Regions from separate parts of the Homo sapiens genome. Here all the other regions are linked to region 2. Evidence: promoter capture Hi-C in 16 types of primary human blood cells and fetal thymus (Javierre and others, 2016). All regions are on one chromosome and are shown on one strand. The core of a region is centred on a gene start or on the middle of the fragment in contact, and the rest is flanking DNA. Distances in the headings are between cores, read along the strand shown. Region 1 overlaps MEI1 (meiotic double-stranded break formation protein 1). Region 2 holds the start of SHISA8 (shisa family member 8). Region 3 overlaps MEI1 (meiotic double-stranded break formation protein 1).

What was found. The method cuts DNA at HindIII sites, captures the fragments that hold promoters and counts their contacts. A CHiCAGO score of 5 or more calls a contact.
Region 1: a fragment that was not itself captured here is called in contact with the fragment with the promoter of SHISA8 in region 2 in 4 of 17 cell types (endothelial precursors, naive CD4 T cells, erythroblasts and 1 more); the score reaches 7.3 in endothelial precursors.
Region 3: a fragment that was not itself captured here is called in contact with the fragment with the promoter of SHISA8 in region 2 in 1 of 17 cell types (M1 macrophages); the score reaches 5.7 in M1 macrophages.

The regions. Positions count from the first base shown.
Region 1 is chr22:41,739,261-41,743,849 of GRCh38, reverse strand. MEI1 (meiotic double-stranded break formation protein 1) reads right to left here. Exons shown (of 31, transcript NM_152513.4): 12 at 656-770. Among named protein-coding and RNA genes, the nearest start is that of MEI1, 42 kb to the right of the region's middle. The HindIII fragment of the contact is 2,151 bases long and covers 497-2,647 here.
Region 2 is chr22:41,913,076-41,917,473 of GRCh38, reverse strand. SHISA8 (shisa family member 8) reads left to right here and starts at 2,400. Exons shown (of 4, transcript NM_001207020.3): 1 at 2,400-3,336. The coding sequence starts at 2,807. LOC124905125 (a long non-coding RNA gene) reads left to right here. Exons shown (of 2, transcript XR_007068113.1): 1 at 1-24; 2 at 438-963. RefSeq lists silencers at 2,282-2,441, 2,462-2,541, 2,612-2,681, 2,722-2,801, 2,942-3,021 and 2 more and an enhancer at 2,174-3,099. The HindIII fragment of the contact is 20,830 bases long and covers 1-4,398 here.
Region 3 is chr22:41,713,423-41,717,653 of GRCh38, reverse strand. MEI1 (meiotic double-stranded break formation protein 1) reads right to left here. Exons shown (of 31, transcript NM_152513.4): 4 at 3,579-3,652; 5 at 1,508-1,613. Among named protein-coding and RNA genes, the nearest start is that of MEI1, 16 kb to the right of the region's middle. The HindIII fragment of the contact is 4,997 bases long and covers 1-4,231 here.

The DNA of each region.
Region 1 (4,589 bases), core at 323-2,822, 170 kb after region 2:
CAGTCTCTCTGAACCACAGGAATGACTATTGGTCTATTATATGCAGAAAGCTGTCACAGGCTAGTGGGCATTAGCTTGACTATAATGGCCCTATTAGTTGCTCTAAAACACAAGAAAATCCCCACTCCATCAGGTGTAAAGAGCTTAGTTTCCAAAGTTAATCCTGAAAGACATAATCAACATTCACACTGACAGTGTCTTTCCTGATATCTTAAGTCTACAGGCTATTAAAAGCCAGCAGCTACAACACATGGCACATTGGTCAGATTCTAAGATTCTAGTGAATTCAGACTTAAATAATTTTGTGAGCATGTTTACCCTATCTGCTTATATGATATAAACAGAGAATGTGTGTAATAGACTGGGGTAAAAACACCCTGGAATTTACTGTTCTAGGCTTAGGTACTTTATAGTTTTGGACCTTAGAGAAAAATTATTTAACCCTCGTGGCTTTAGTTTCCCCATCTGTAAAAATGACAATAGTAATCCTTAAGCTTCATAGTTCTGCTATTAGGGAAAAAGCATCTCATTGTAGCCATGTGTGCATGAGAAAAAGTCATGAAATAGCATACAAAAGTAAGGGAATATACTAATTATCTTTCTAAAAACACACTGCAGCATGATCTTCGGAAGCAGCAGGCTGCAGTACACTGACCAGGGGCCTCCTGCTCAGCAAGGTCTGGGAAAACTCCGCACATCGGTTTAGCATGGCTTCTAGCAAAGCCTGCAGTTCCCCATACTGCACAGGTGGAGTGCTCTGATGGTCCTTCCTGCATCCAGAGAGACAAAAGCAGGTTCACGGTAAGGCAACGGTATTCCCAAGATAACCCCAGGTTCTCAGGCAATGAGAGGCAGTGCAGTTGGATCAGAACATGGAATCTAATCTGATAAAAATCCTTACTCCAGGCCAGGAATGGTGGCTCACGCCTGTTAATTCCAGCACTTTGGGAGACTGAGATGAGTAGATGTCTTGAGTCCAGGAGATGGAGACCAGCCTGGGCAACATGGTGAAACCCAGTCTCCACAAAAATTAGCCAAGTGTGGTGGCATACACCTGTGATTTCAGTTACTCAAGAGGCAGAGGTGGGAGGATCACCTGAGCCCAAGAAGGTAGAAGCTGCAGTGAGCCGTGATCATACTACTGCAATCCAGCCTGGGTGACAGAACAAGACTTTGTCTCAAAAAAATCCTTACTTCAATGCTTATCTAACTGCACAACTTCTTGTACATTCCTTGCCCTCTCTAACCATCAATTTCCTCATCTATTAAATGAGGCTAATAGTACTCTCCTCATAGACTTATTATGGGGATCAAATTCGATAATGTATGCCAAACACTTAGCATGATGCTTAATACGTAATAAGTCCTTATAAATGTCAGCTGTGTCTATTATTACTATTAAGGATACAAGGTTTTCTCGCAGAGGAGAGCCTGCTGGTAAAAGAAGCACTACCTAGAATTGAACGTGCATCAAGAGAGTGACAGCTACTGTTTTCCAATAAGTAATAAGCTCTTCTGGGGAAGAGGGATCAAACTTTGTTAACTCAACGAGGAAAACCAGGATCAACAGGTAAATGTTACTAAGATCCAGAGATGGAGTCTCACTCTGTCACCCAGGCTGGAGTGCAGTGGTGTGATCTTGGCTCCCTGCAACCTCCATCTCCCAGATCCAAGCAATTCTCCTGCCTCAGCCACCTGAGTAACTGGGACTACAGGCGCACACCACTACACCCAGCTAAGTTTTGTACTTTTAGTAGAGATGAGATTTCACCATGTTGGCCAGGCTGGTTTCAAACTCCTGACCTCAAGTTATCCACCCACCACAGCTTCCCAAAGTGTGGGATTACAGGCATGAGCCACTGCACCCAGCCTGAGAACTTTCTTTTCTCTTTTTTTTTTTTTTTTTTGAGATGGAGTCTCGCTCTGTCACCAGGCTGGGGTACAGTGGCGCAATCTAAGCTCACTGCAACCTCTGCCTCCCGGGTTTAAGTGATTCTCCTGCCTCAGCCTCCCAAGTAGCTGGGACTACAGGCGCACGCCACCACACCCAGTTAATTTTTGTATTTTTAGTAGAGACGGGGTTTCTTGACCTCATGATCTGCCGCCTCAGCCTCTCAAAGTGCTGGAATTACAAGCGTGAGCCACCACGCCCAGCATCAGCCTGAGAATTTTCTGAGTCAAAGTCTATAGAAGTATTGGGGACCATCTCTAGGGAGAAGTGATTCCCCATTCTATGAGACTATACGCAGAGACTGGAAAAGTACTTTTGGAGATTCAATCATTATGAGTGTGGGGTAAATGTAGACAGGTAACACCTAAGGCCCATTTGAACCCTCAGATTCTATAGACTCAGAAGAGCCAACAGTCATTGACTAGTTTAATTGTGAGTTTCCAAGAGGAAAGGGACCAGTTCCATCTTTTCACTTTACCTAAACAGAGACAGATGCATTGTAAGTTGATGATTAATAGAACAGATGTCAAATGAATGAATGACTATTTCACAGGGTATTGGTTTCTTAGGGCTGCTATAATAAATTACCACAAACTGTGTGGCTTAAAACAACAGAAGTTTATCCTCTCACAGTTCTGGAGGCTAGAAATCTGAAATTGAGGTGTCGTCAGGGCCATGTCCCCTCTAAAGCAAGCTTGTCCCACCCACAGCCCACAGGCCGCATGCAGCCCAGGACAACTTTGAATGCAGCCTGACACAAATTTGTAAACTTTCTTAAAACATTATGATATGAAACCCTGTCTCTACTAAAAATACAAAATTTAGCTGGGCATGGTGGCGCGTGCCTGTAATCCCAGCTACTCGGCAGGCTGAGGCAGGAGAATCGCTTGAACCAGGGAGTTGGAGGTTGCAGCGAGCCAAGATCACATCACAGCACTCCAGCCTGGTGACAGAGCAAGACCCTCATCCCTGAGCCTTTGTTGAGCACTGAGAGCCATCTGTTGGGCCTTCTAACAGGTTCTCAGTCAACTGCATATGGTTACGGCTTGATTTCCCCTTTCCTTCTTCATCTCTGGAAGCTCCAAGTTTGACGATCCTACACGATCATCAAGCCCTAGTTCCACCACCTTTAAATTCTTGGGTTTGTTTTTGTTTTTGTTTTTGTTTTTGAGACAGGGTCTCGCTCTGCTGCCCAGGCTGGAGTGCAGTGGCACAAACACAACTCACAGCAGCCTCAATCTCCTGGGCTCAAGCAATCTTCCTGCCTCAGCCTCTTGAGTAGCCGGGACTACAGGCATACACCAAGCTTGGATAATTTTTGTAGAGATAGCGTTTCCTCAGGTTATCCAGGCTAGTCTCAAATTCCTGAGCTGAAGCGATCCTCCAGCCTCAGCCTCCCAAAGTGCTGGGATTACAGGTGTGAGCCACTATACCCGGCCTCTTTAAATTCTTTTTAGCAGCTCTCACTCTTCATTCTTCCTTCTAGTTGTGCTTTCCAAAGACACTCTGAACCACCCCACCTCAGAGGGACCACGTCAGTAAACATTCTGGGAAGTTAAAGTCAAAAGTAAAATCATCTTTGGCCGGGCGCGGTGGATCACGCCTATAATCCCAGCACTTTGGGAGGCTGAGGCAGGCAGATCACAAGGTCAGGAATTCGATACCAGCCTGGCCAATATGGTGAAAACGCATCTCTACTAAAAATACAAGAAGTATCCAGGCGTGGTGGCGGGCACCTGTAGTCCCAGCTACTCGCGAGGCTAAGGCAGGAGAATCGTTTGAACCTGGGAGGTGGAGGTTGTGGTGAACCGAGATCGAGCCACTGAACTCCAGCCTGAGCAACAGAGCGAGACTCCACCCCCCCCACCAAAAAAAAAGTAAAATAATCCAAGGCTTAATAACCTGCCCCCTATCCATCTCTCTCCACAATTCTGACCCAACAGCTTTCCTGCTTCTCCAGGCAACACCCGCTTCATGTAACCTGCTGGTCAACTGGCTACTGCACCCTGAGCAATCTCTATACTCTCGAACCCAAATGTTTTGCTAATCCAGGTCCTTCCACAAATCTAACTCTCACCCTTCATAGTACAACTGAAATACCACTTCCTGCCCAAAAGGCACTACTGGTCCCCTCTAGCAGTGTCCTGCTGGAAGACTTCCAGCTCAGCATAGATGCCTCTGATTGACATTGCTCTTACTTATGCTTTTGTTACCTTGTTGGTTTACTCATCCCTCCCACTCTAGAATTCATGTCCTAGATTTAGAGATTCAAATTCAGGGAAGGACAAAGGAGGAAAGAAGACAGACTGAAGTCACTGTCACGTAAATGCTATTTTTTGTTTCAATTTTTAGAACCAACCTAGAGTCAAATCACAAAGACTTAAATATAGTTACAGAAGAGACTATAAATATTAACAACTTTCACAATGTAAAATTAAAGGTATAGCTGACTGGCCTTGAGAAGTAGAAGTAGGGAAGAGAGGGGAAAAGAAGAGTTGGGGTGCTGCTAACCACGTAGGAACTCAGGAGACACTGCTTCAAGTTGAGGGAACAAGAAATACCAGTTTTAGGTACATTATTTAAAGGTTAAAAACAAAATATTAAATAGCAAAAATGCCAAGGACATGTAGAGAAGACA
Region 2 (4,398 bases), core at 1,151-3,650:
AATCAGATTGAGACGGGGAGGAAGGTGTGTGTGTGGTGGGGGGTGGGGGGTGGTGTTGGGGGTTGGACATCAGTCCCTGGGAGGGGCTGGAATCCACTTCCTTCATTGGACAAATGGCTGTCACTATGTATATGTATGTGAAGGCCTGATGGGGTCAACATGAGGAAAGCACCCAGTGCCAGGACGGTGGGGGCAGGAGGGTGTCCAGGAAGGGGGAGCACTGGGAGACTTGCTCTGACCCCTCACTCTAACTTGGAAGAGGCCCCAGTTCCAAGGGGGCAGAGACAAGCCTCTTTCAACCCAGTGCCCGGCAACGGGTGGGAAAGGTGGGAGAAGAGGCCCCCCTCAGAGCTCCTGCAGCCTCCAGGGCAGTGGGCAGAGGGCGGTGGGGACTTCAATACCAGTGATACGGGTTGTGCCACGGATTCCATTTCTAGGAATGGCCCTAAGGAAAGGAAGCAGGAAAGGACGCTCCAGAAAGTAGAGCTCAGAAGCTCTGAGAAGAATCACAAATGAGAAGGTTTTTTTTTGTTTTTTTTTTTTTGTTTGTTTGTTTGTTTTTTTAAGACGGAGTCTCAATCTGTTTCCCAGGCTGGAGGGCAATGGTGTGATCTCAGCTCACTGCAAACTCTGCCTCCCAGGTTCAAGCGATTCTCTGGCCTCAGCCTTCCGAGTAGCTGGGATTACAGGCATATGCCACCATGCCCAGCTAATTTTTGTATTTTTAGTAGAGGTGGGGTTTCACCATGTTGGTCAGCCTAGTCTCCAACTCCTGACCTTGTGATCCACCTGCCTCAGCCTCCCAAAGTGTTGGGATTACAGGCGTGAGCCACTGCCCCCAGCCAAACGAAAAGTTTAAGGATGGCAAAAAGTAAACCACAAACTAGTTACAATCCAGCATGTAAATGTGGCATATTTTAGTGTGGTTGTCTCTGGACATGGGATTAAAGCAATTTCATTTAATTCCTTTGTTCATCTGTGTTTTTTCTTCTAAACTGGTAATAAGGGGTCCTTTAATGAGGGTGGGTTTTCGGGGCTGGATGGGAAGTGTGTGTACATGTGTGTGCACATGTGTGTGTGTAGGTGGAGGGAGCAGGCTGTCTTTGGCCAGGGCACAAGGAGAAGCTCTGAGTGGGGAGGTCACCTCCTCTTCCTGTCTGAACCCATTAATACCTGAAATTAGTCTGTCAGCCCCTCATGTCAGGCAACAGACTTGATCCTCCTTAAAATGTAAATCCTTCCTCTTCTTCTCCCCCACCTTCTCCACTTTCATAAGCTGGTCCCAGTTGCTGAGAGAAGGACGGATGGAAAGGGGACCAGGAGGGACCCTAGGGAGCCCCAAATGTTTCATCTCACAGAAACTAGGCGCTGGAGTCCTTTCATTCATTTATTCATTCAGCAAATGCCGACAGAGGCCTGAGCTGCACACTGGGTGAATTGCACGCCCAGTCCTTGCCCTCCTGCTGTTTCCGTCTGGACAGAGGGAGGTTCCATATCGACCCCTATCTCCTGGAAGGGGCAGATTATGAGTCTGCCCTCCAGGAAGAGTCTTTGATGTTAAGATGAGATACTGAGGCAGGGAGAAGCCAAGCACCAGGACCTTCTCCAGTTCAACTCAACCCCGAAAACACCACTGGGCCGTGCTGGGACCGGGTCCGGGCTCCTTAGGGCCCCCACACCCTACCCCTCGGTTTGTGAAAGGACCTGCGGGTGGGCGCAGGGCGGAGGTCTTCCTTTTCCAGGCTTTCCTTTTCCAGGGCAGGGGCGAGCCCAGTCCCCCTCTCCTCACACCTGGGGAGGGAGCAGATCGCGGAAGTGCGTCAGCCAAGCCGTGCCCATCGACGCAGGGATGGGGACATCCCTGGACCCCAGCCCAGCGTTCGAGGGGTTCTGGAACTGGGCTCGCGCCGTGGGGTAAATCCTTGGCCCTCTGAAGCGGCGCTGCCAGGGGAAGTCCTTCCCATTTGACAGGTGGGAAAATCGAGGCGCCGAGAGGGGAAGGGGCCCTCCTTATGTTATGATCAGAACGGACAGAGGGGACGGGAAGGAGGTGAGAGGGTGGCCCTGCCCGTCCCGGGGCAATTCCGGGCTGCTTTGACCTCCGCGCCTGTAAGGTACAGGTCCCCGCACCTGTAAGACAGGGACGCTCTAGTCGCGGGCCCTAGAACTGATCCCCTTCGAGCGCCCAGTTCCGATGAATGTTTCGGGGCAGTCTTTGTGGAGGGGGGTTCCCTGTGGGGCCTCCCGGCTCCGCGGGGCCTGCTGCCTCCTCTCGCCCCTCGCGGCAGCCGCGCTCCTCCCCCGGCTCTGCCTCCCTTCCGCCCTCCCTCCTCTCTCCCTCCCCCGCCCGCCCGAGCCCGCGCCGAGCCCGAGCGGGAGCCGGAGCCGGAGCCGGAGCCAGAGCGCGGGCTGTACTGAGAGCGCGGCGGGAAGGTAGCGCAGTCGGGCGGCCCGCGGCCCCGGCGCGGCCTCCGCTAGGGCCAAGACCCGCACACCTGCCGGGCCGGGGAGAAGCCGGGGGCCGCGCGCAGGCGAGGACCCGCCGCCCGGCCCGGGGAAGATCTCAGGACGCGGACCGGGCAGCTCGGGTCCGAGGTGAGCCCGGGCGGAGGACGCGCCCACCGGAGGTGCGGCCTCGGAGCTCCAGACCCAGCCCACTCGGGGCTGGGGTCCCCAGAGGAGGCCGACGGCCGAGGCGGCGTGCGCCGGGAGCCAGCGCGATCCCTGCGGGAGCGGAGGAGCCGAGCCGGAGGGAGCCGCGGCGCCCGGCCATGCACCGGGCGCAGTAGCGGGAGGCGCGGGCCCGATGGCGCGGGCCGGGGCGCGGGGACTGCTCGGCGGCCGCCGTCCTCCCGGCCTCCGGCTCGCGCTCGCGCTTCGGCTCGCGTTGCTGCTGGCGCGGCCGCCGTCGGGCCGCGCGGGAGCCCCCGAGGCGCAGGGTCCCGCGGCGCCCGGCACGACAGCCCCGGAGGGGGGCGACCGCTGCCGCGGCTACTACGACGTGATGGGCCAGTGGGACCCGCCCTTCAACTGCAGCTCCGGAGCCTACAGCTTCTGCTGCGGCACGTGCGGCTACCGCTTCTGCTGCCACGACGGGCCGCGGCGCCTCGACCAGAGCCGCTGTTCCAACTACGACACGCCGGCCTGGGTCCAGACAGGCCGGCCGCCCGCCCGCGCCCGCGACACCGCAGCGCCCCGGGACCCCGGCCGCGAGCGCAGCCATACGGCCGTCTACGCTGTGTGCGGCGTCGCAGCGCTGCTGGTGCTGGCCGGCATCGGGGCGCGCCTGGGACTGGAGAGGGCGCACAGCCCGCGCGCGCGGCGCACAGTGACCAGGTGAGCACGCGCCGCCCAGGGACCCCCGCCTGCTCCTCGGACTGCTCTCCCTGCCCGCTGATCCTTCCCGCCGCTCTCGAAGCGCTGGTTCTCCCAGCAGGCCCCTTCTCTGGGTTTTCCTGTCTCCTTCTCCCCCCGCCGCCCCCCCAACACTTCATCAGGGAGACACCTGACACCGCCCTGACTCCCTTTGACCTTCTGCCCGTGCTGGGCGCCGCACCGCCTTTCCCTGCTCGAGTCTCCTCTGGAGGGCAGGGGGGTGGGGGCGGGCTGGGAGGGGGACAGGTAGCCTTGCACAGAGGGCACCGGGTCACTGTCCAGGGTAAGGGGCGCCGCTGGCCAGGGAGGTGACCGGGCGTCTTGGGCACGGGAAAGGAAGGGGCGCTTGGTTCTCTGGGTGCCCATCTCCTGCTTCTCCCCACTCCTCCCTCCCCTCTTCCACCTCCTGCCTCTCCCCTGCCCCCACAGCTGTGACTCAAGGCTGCCCTTCCCTCCTTGGGTTTCAAAGGCCTCCCCCCACTCACCCCATGCCACAGCTCCCAGGTGAAGGTCAGGGCTCCCTCTGCGTAGAAAGGGGACTCTGGAACACAGTCGTGTGTTGCTGAGGCCAGGACAGGTGCTTGTTGCATTCTGAGCTTGGTGTGAAGTGGGCACTACAGGGTCCAGGTCCCCTTCCTCGGTTGGAACGAGGACTCTAGGACTCTATGTGTCCTGACCCTGGAACTCCCACCCACATGCCACACGTGGCACTCACATGCCCCCAGCAACCCCCATGCCCTGGGGCCTGTGCCCTCCTCATCCACCCGGTCCCAGCACCCTTTGGGCCTGTGGGCTGCTGACACCGAATGTGACAGGCTGGTATTTAAAAGTGACCATAGAGAAGCCTTCATACCCTGGCAGGCCAGATGTGGACACTTCCCCCTCCTGGGCCTCAGAGGCAGGGGGTGAGGGCTTCCTTGGCACTTCAGCACCCCTCGCTCCCGAAACCACGTAGCCCACTTTCTCCCAGGGAGCTCTAAGGGAAGCCCGGGCTGGCACCCTGGCCTCCACCCTCAGCTTCTG
Region 3 (4,231 bases), core at 778-3,277, 200 kb after region 2:
ACAGAGCGAGACTCCAACTCAAAAAAAAAAAAAAAGAAAAGAAAAAAGAAAAAGAAAGCCAGGTGCAGTGGCTCATTCCTGAAATCTCAGCACTTTGGGAGGCCAAGGTGGGAGGATCACTTGAGACCAGCAGGTTGAGACCAACCTGCTCTACATAGTGAGATCTGGTCTCTAAAAAATAATAATAATTAGGCTGGGCATGGTGCCTCATGGCTGTAATCCCACCACTTTGGGAGGCCGAGGTGGGCAGATCACTTGAAGTCAGGAGTTCAAGACCAGTCTGGCCAACATGGCGAAACCCCACCTCTACTAAAAATACAAAAATTAGCCTGGTGTTGTGGCGGACGCCTATAATCCCAGCTACTCAGGAGGCTGAAGCAGGAAAATCACTTGAACCTGGGAGGCAGAGATTTCAGTAAGCCAAGATCATGCCACTGCGCTGTAGCCCGGTTCTGTCTCAAAAAATTATTATTATTATTATTAATTTTTTTAAAAAGGGGAAACCAACTTAAAGAAGTTATTTACCCTTTGGTAAATCCTCTGGGAGATATTTATTTGCATTTCACTGACAGAAAAAAGTGCTTCTATATTCCAGAATTCCTCCTTCCATCCAAAAGGAAGGTTCATAGTAGGTACTTAATTAATTTGTGTTAAAGAATGAATGGAGCCGGGCGTGGTGGCTCACACCTGTAATCCCAGCACTTTGGGAGACTGAGGCGGGTCCAACAGCAGGTCAGGAGATCGAGACCATCCTGGCTAACATGGTGAAACTCCGTCTCTACTAAAAATACAAAAAATTAGCCAGGCATGGTGGCAGGCGCCTGTAGTCCAAGCTACTCGGGAGGCTGAGGCAGTAGAATGGCGTGAACCCGGGAGGCAGAGCTTGCAGTGAGCCGAGATCGCGCCACTGCACTCCAGCCTGGGCAACAGAGCAAGACTCGTCTCAGGGAAAAAAAAAAAAAAAAAAGAATGAATGGAAGGCCAGCGTGGTGGCTCACGCCTGTAATCCCAGCACTTTGGGAGGCTGAGGCAGGCGGATCACCTGAGGTTGGGAGGTCAAGACCAGCCTGACCAACATGGAGAAACCCCGTCTCTACCAAAAATACAAAATTAGTCCAGCGTGGTGGCACATGCCTGTAATCCCAGCTACTCGGGAGGCTGAGGTAGGAGAATCGCTTGAACCCGGGAGGTGGAGGTTGCAGTGAGTCGAGATTGCGCCATTGCACTCCAGCCTGGGCAACAAGAGCAAGACTCCGTCTCAAAAAAAAAAAAAAAAAAAAAAAAAAAAAAAAAAAAAAGAATGAATGGAAATAGTCCAAGAATAGAGTCAAAAAACTGACCTTTTTCAAATTGACCGACATACAGTACATTTTGCAGACGGGGAAACTGAAGGCTAAAGCAGGAAAGTAATGACTTCCCAGGTGTACAGAGTGAATGGGACACCCAAATGGCAGTATGATAAAAGCAGGTAAAAGGGTAGTGGCAGCTCCTCCCACAGGTCACTCACCATGCTCCATTACAAGCTCGTCTGCCAGAGCAGGGATGGCATCCACCAACTTGCCAAGAAGGGTCAGGGTGGCCAGGCTGCCTCGCATGGAGGGCATGTTACACAGCTACAGAAAGTGAATATGCTCCATTCTGTCAATTAGGATCAGGACAGATCTTCCACCAAAACTGATCTTTCCCTACCCACACCAATGCCTGTATTGCATGTGTCTCTCACCACAGTCAGCAATCAGCTTTTTTAGCTTAGTGTCCAGCTCCCCCACTGGACTGGGAACTCCCAGAGGAAAGGGACTGAGTCCTCTCAGAGTCCTCAGTACCTAGCTCAGTGCATGTTTGTTAAACTGAATTAAAATCTACATATTTTGCCTCCATAGAACCAGAAGTTGGGGGACAAAAGTTTGAAATGTCATAAAGACAGAACACTGACTCGATGCAAAAAAAAAAAATTATTGTTGGCCAGGCGTGGTGGCTCACGCTGTAATCCCAGCATTTTGGGAGGCCGAGGCGGGCGGATCACGAGGTCAGGAGATCGAGACCATCCTGGCTAACACAGTGAAACCCCGTCTCTACTAAAAGTACAAAAAATTAGCCGGGTGTGGTGGGAGGCGCCTGTAGTCCCAGCTACTCGGGAGGCTGAGGCAGGAGAATGGCGTGAACCCGGGAGGCGGAGCTTGCAGTGAGCCAAGATTGCGCCACTGCACTCCAGCCTGGGAAACAGTGAAAGACTCCGTCTCAAAAAAAAAAAAAAAATTATTGTTATCATAGTTATTATAGCTCCTATTACTGAACATTCTCTGTATACCAGGCACTATGCTTCATGCTTTACAGGGAGAGTCAATAGTCCATATTTTACCTTTTCTATTGACTAGCTAGTCATACCACTTTTGGCAAGATTCTTAACTCTGGTGGGAAATAATAATAGTAACAGCTTTATAGGGTTGTTGATAGGGCTGAATGAGATATTACATATAAACCACCTCATACAATCCCTAGCCCATAGAAAGTGCTCAATAAATGTTAAGTGGCATCATCTCATCATAATCATAAGCACTGATATATATAATTATAAATTCAATCTGACATATTAATCATATGTAAAATAACTATGATATAATTGAAATATAATTTATAATGAAATGTTCTTGATGGTTTTAACAAGATAAACATTTGTTTTCCTTCTGCAAATTAAATAAAAAGTTATTCTGATATTATTCCTCAGTCTTAAATACAACACAAAAGCTGCTCTTTAACTGATATTTTTTTTTTTTAGATGGAGTCTTGCTTTGTCACCCAGGCTGGGGTGCAGTGGTGCGATCTCAGCTCACTGCAAACTCCACCTCCTGGGTTCATGCAATTCCCCTGCCTCAGCCTCCCCAGTAGCTGGGATTACTTGCATGCACCACCACGCCCAGCTAATTTTTTTTTTTTTTTGTATTTTTAGTAGAGACGGGGTTTCACCATAATGGCCAGGCTGATCTCGAACTCCTGACCTCAAGTGATCCACCCACCTCAGCCTCCCAAAGTGCTGGGATTACAGGTGTGAGCCATTGTGCCTGGCTAACTAATTTCTTTGACTACACTGAAGAAAGCAGATTAAACATACCATATCCACTCAATGCTTACCTCAGATAGAAGCAAACGCCTTCAGTACAAAGTAAGCTGATAGAACCAAACACCTTCAGTACTAAGTAATGTATACAATTCAAAATTAAATAAAACCACCAAAACAAGACATAGAGAACATATTTCCTTGACAACTTCATCAAGGAAATCTGTATTATAATTAGGAAGTCACGGAAAATGAACCATGGGATGATTATGCCAGAAAGATGGCACTTCATTGCATGGAGGTAACATTTGGGAGATTGAAAGGGGAAAGAAGAAAGCTGTAAAGAACACTGGAGCATGATCAGTGGACCCAGGCCTTAGCTCTGACTCTGCCACCAACTCAGTGACCTCAGGAAAGCTCCTTTTCCTCCCTGGACTTCAATCTCTCATTTGTTCAAAGGGTTGACCCAGCTCTGACATCTGAGGATTCTGAGAGACTCAAGAACCCATAGCTATTTTCTGACCTCTTTGTGGCACTCATCCAGCAGGCAACGGATAGTCTGCTCCAGCTTCAGCTGCGTTGTGATCTGAATAAGGACTGAACAGACACAACAGTATTACTAACCAGGAGGCACCCCCAACCCAGAGTCCACCTTCCATGGCCCTTCTACTCAATCAGTGCAGGATAGTGATTTGCCTGGGCTAATTGGTATTATACTTTTCTATTTCTTCCATTTAACTATGTGTGCACAGGCCAGGCACAGTGGCTCACATCTGTAATCCCAGCACTTTGGGAGGCCGAGGCAGGCGGATCACCTGAGGTGAGGAATTTGAGACCAGCCTGACCAACATGGAGAAACCTCGTCTCTATTAGAAAAACAAAATTAGCCGGACATGGAGGTGCAGGCCTGTAATCCCAGCTACTCGGGAGGTTGAGGCAGGAGAATTGCTTGAACCCGGCAGGCGGAGGTTGTAGTGAGCCAAGATCGTGCCATTGCACTCCAGCATGGGCAACGAGAGCAAAAACTCTGTCTCAAAAACAAAACAAAACAAAACAAAAAAACAACTATGTGTGCACATCTAAACTAAAGGAGTTCTGGCTTCTTTTTTTTTTTTCTTTTGATTTTGCTTTTGCTTTGTTTAGAGACAGGGTCATCCAGGCTAAAGTGCAGTGGTG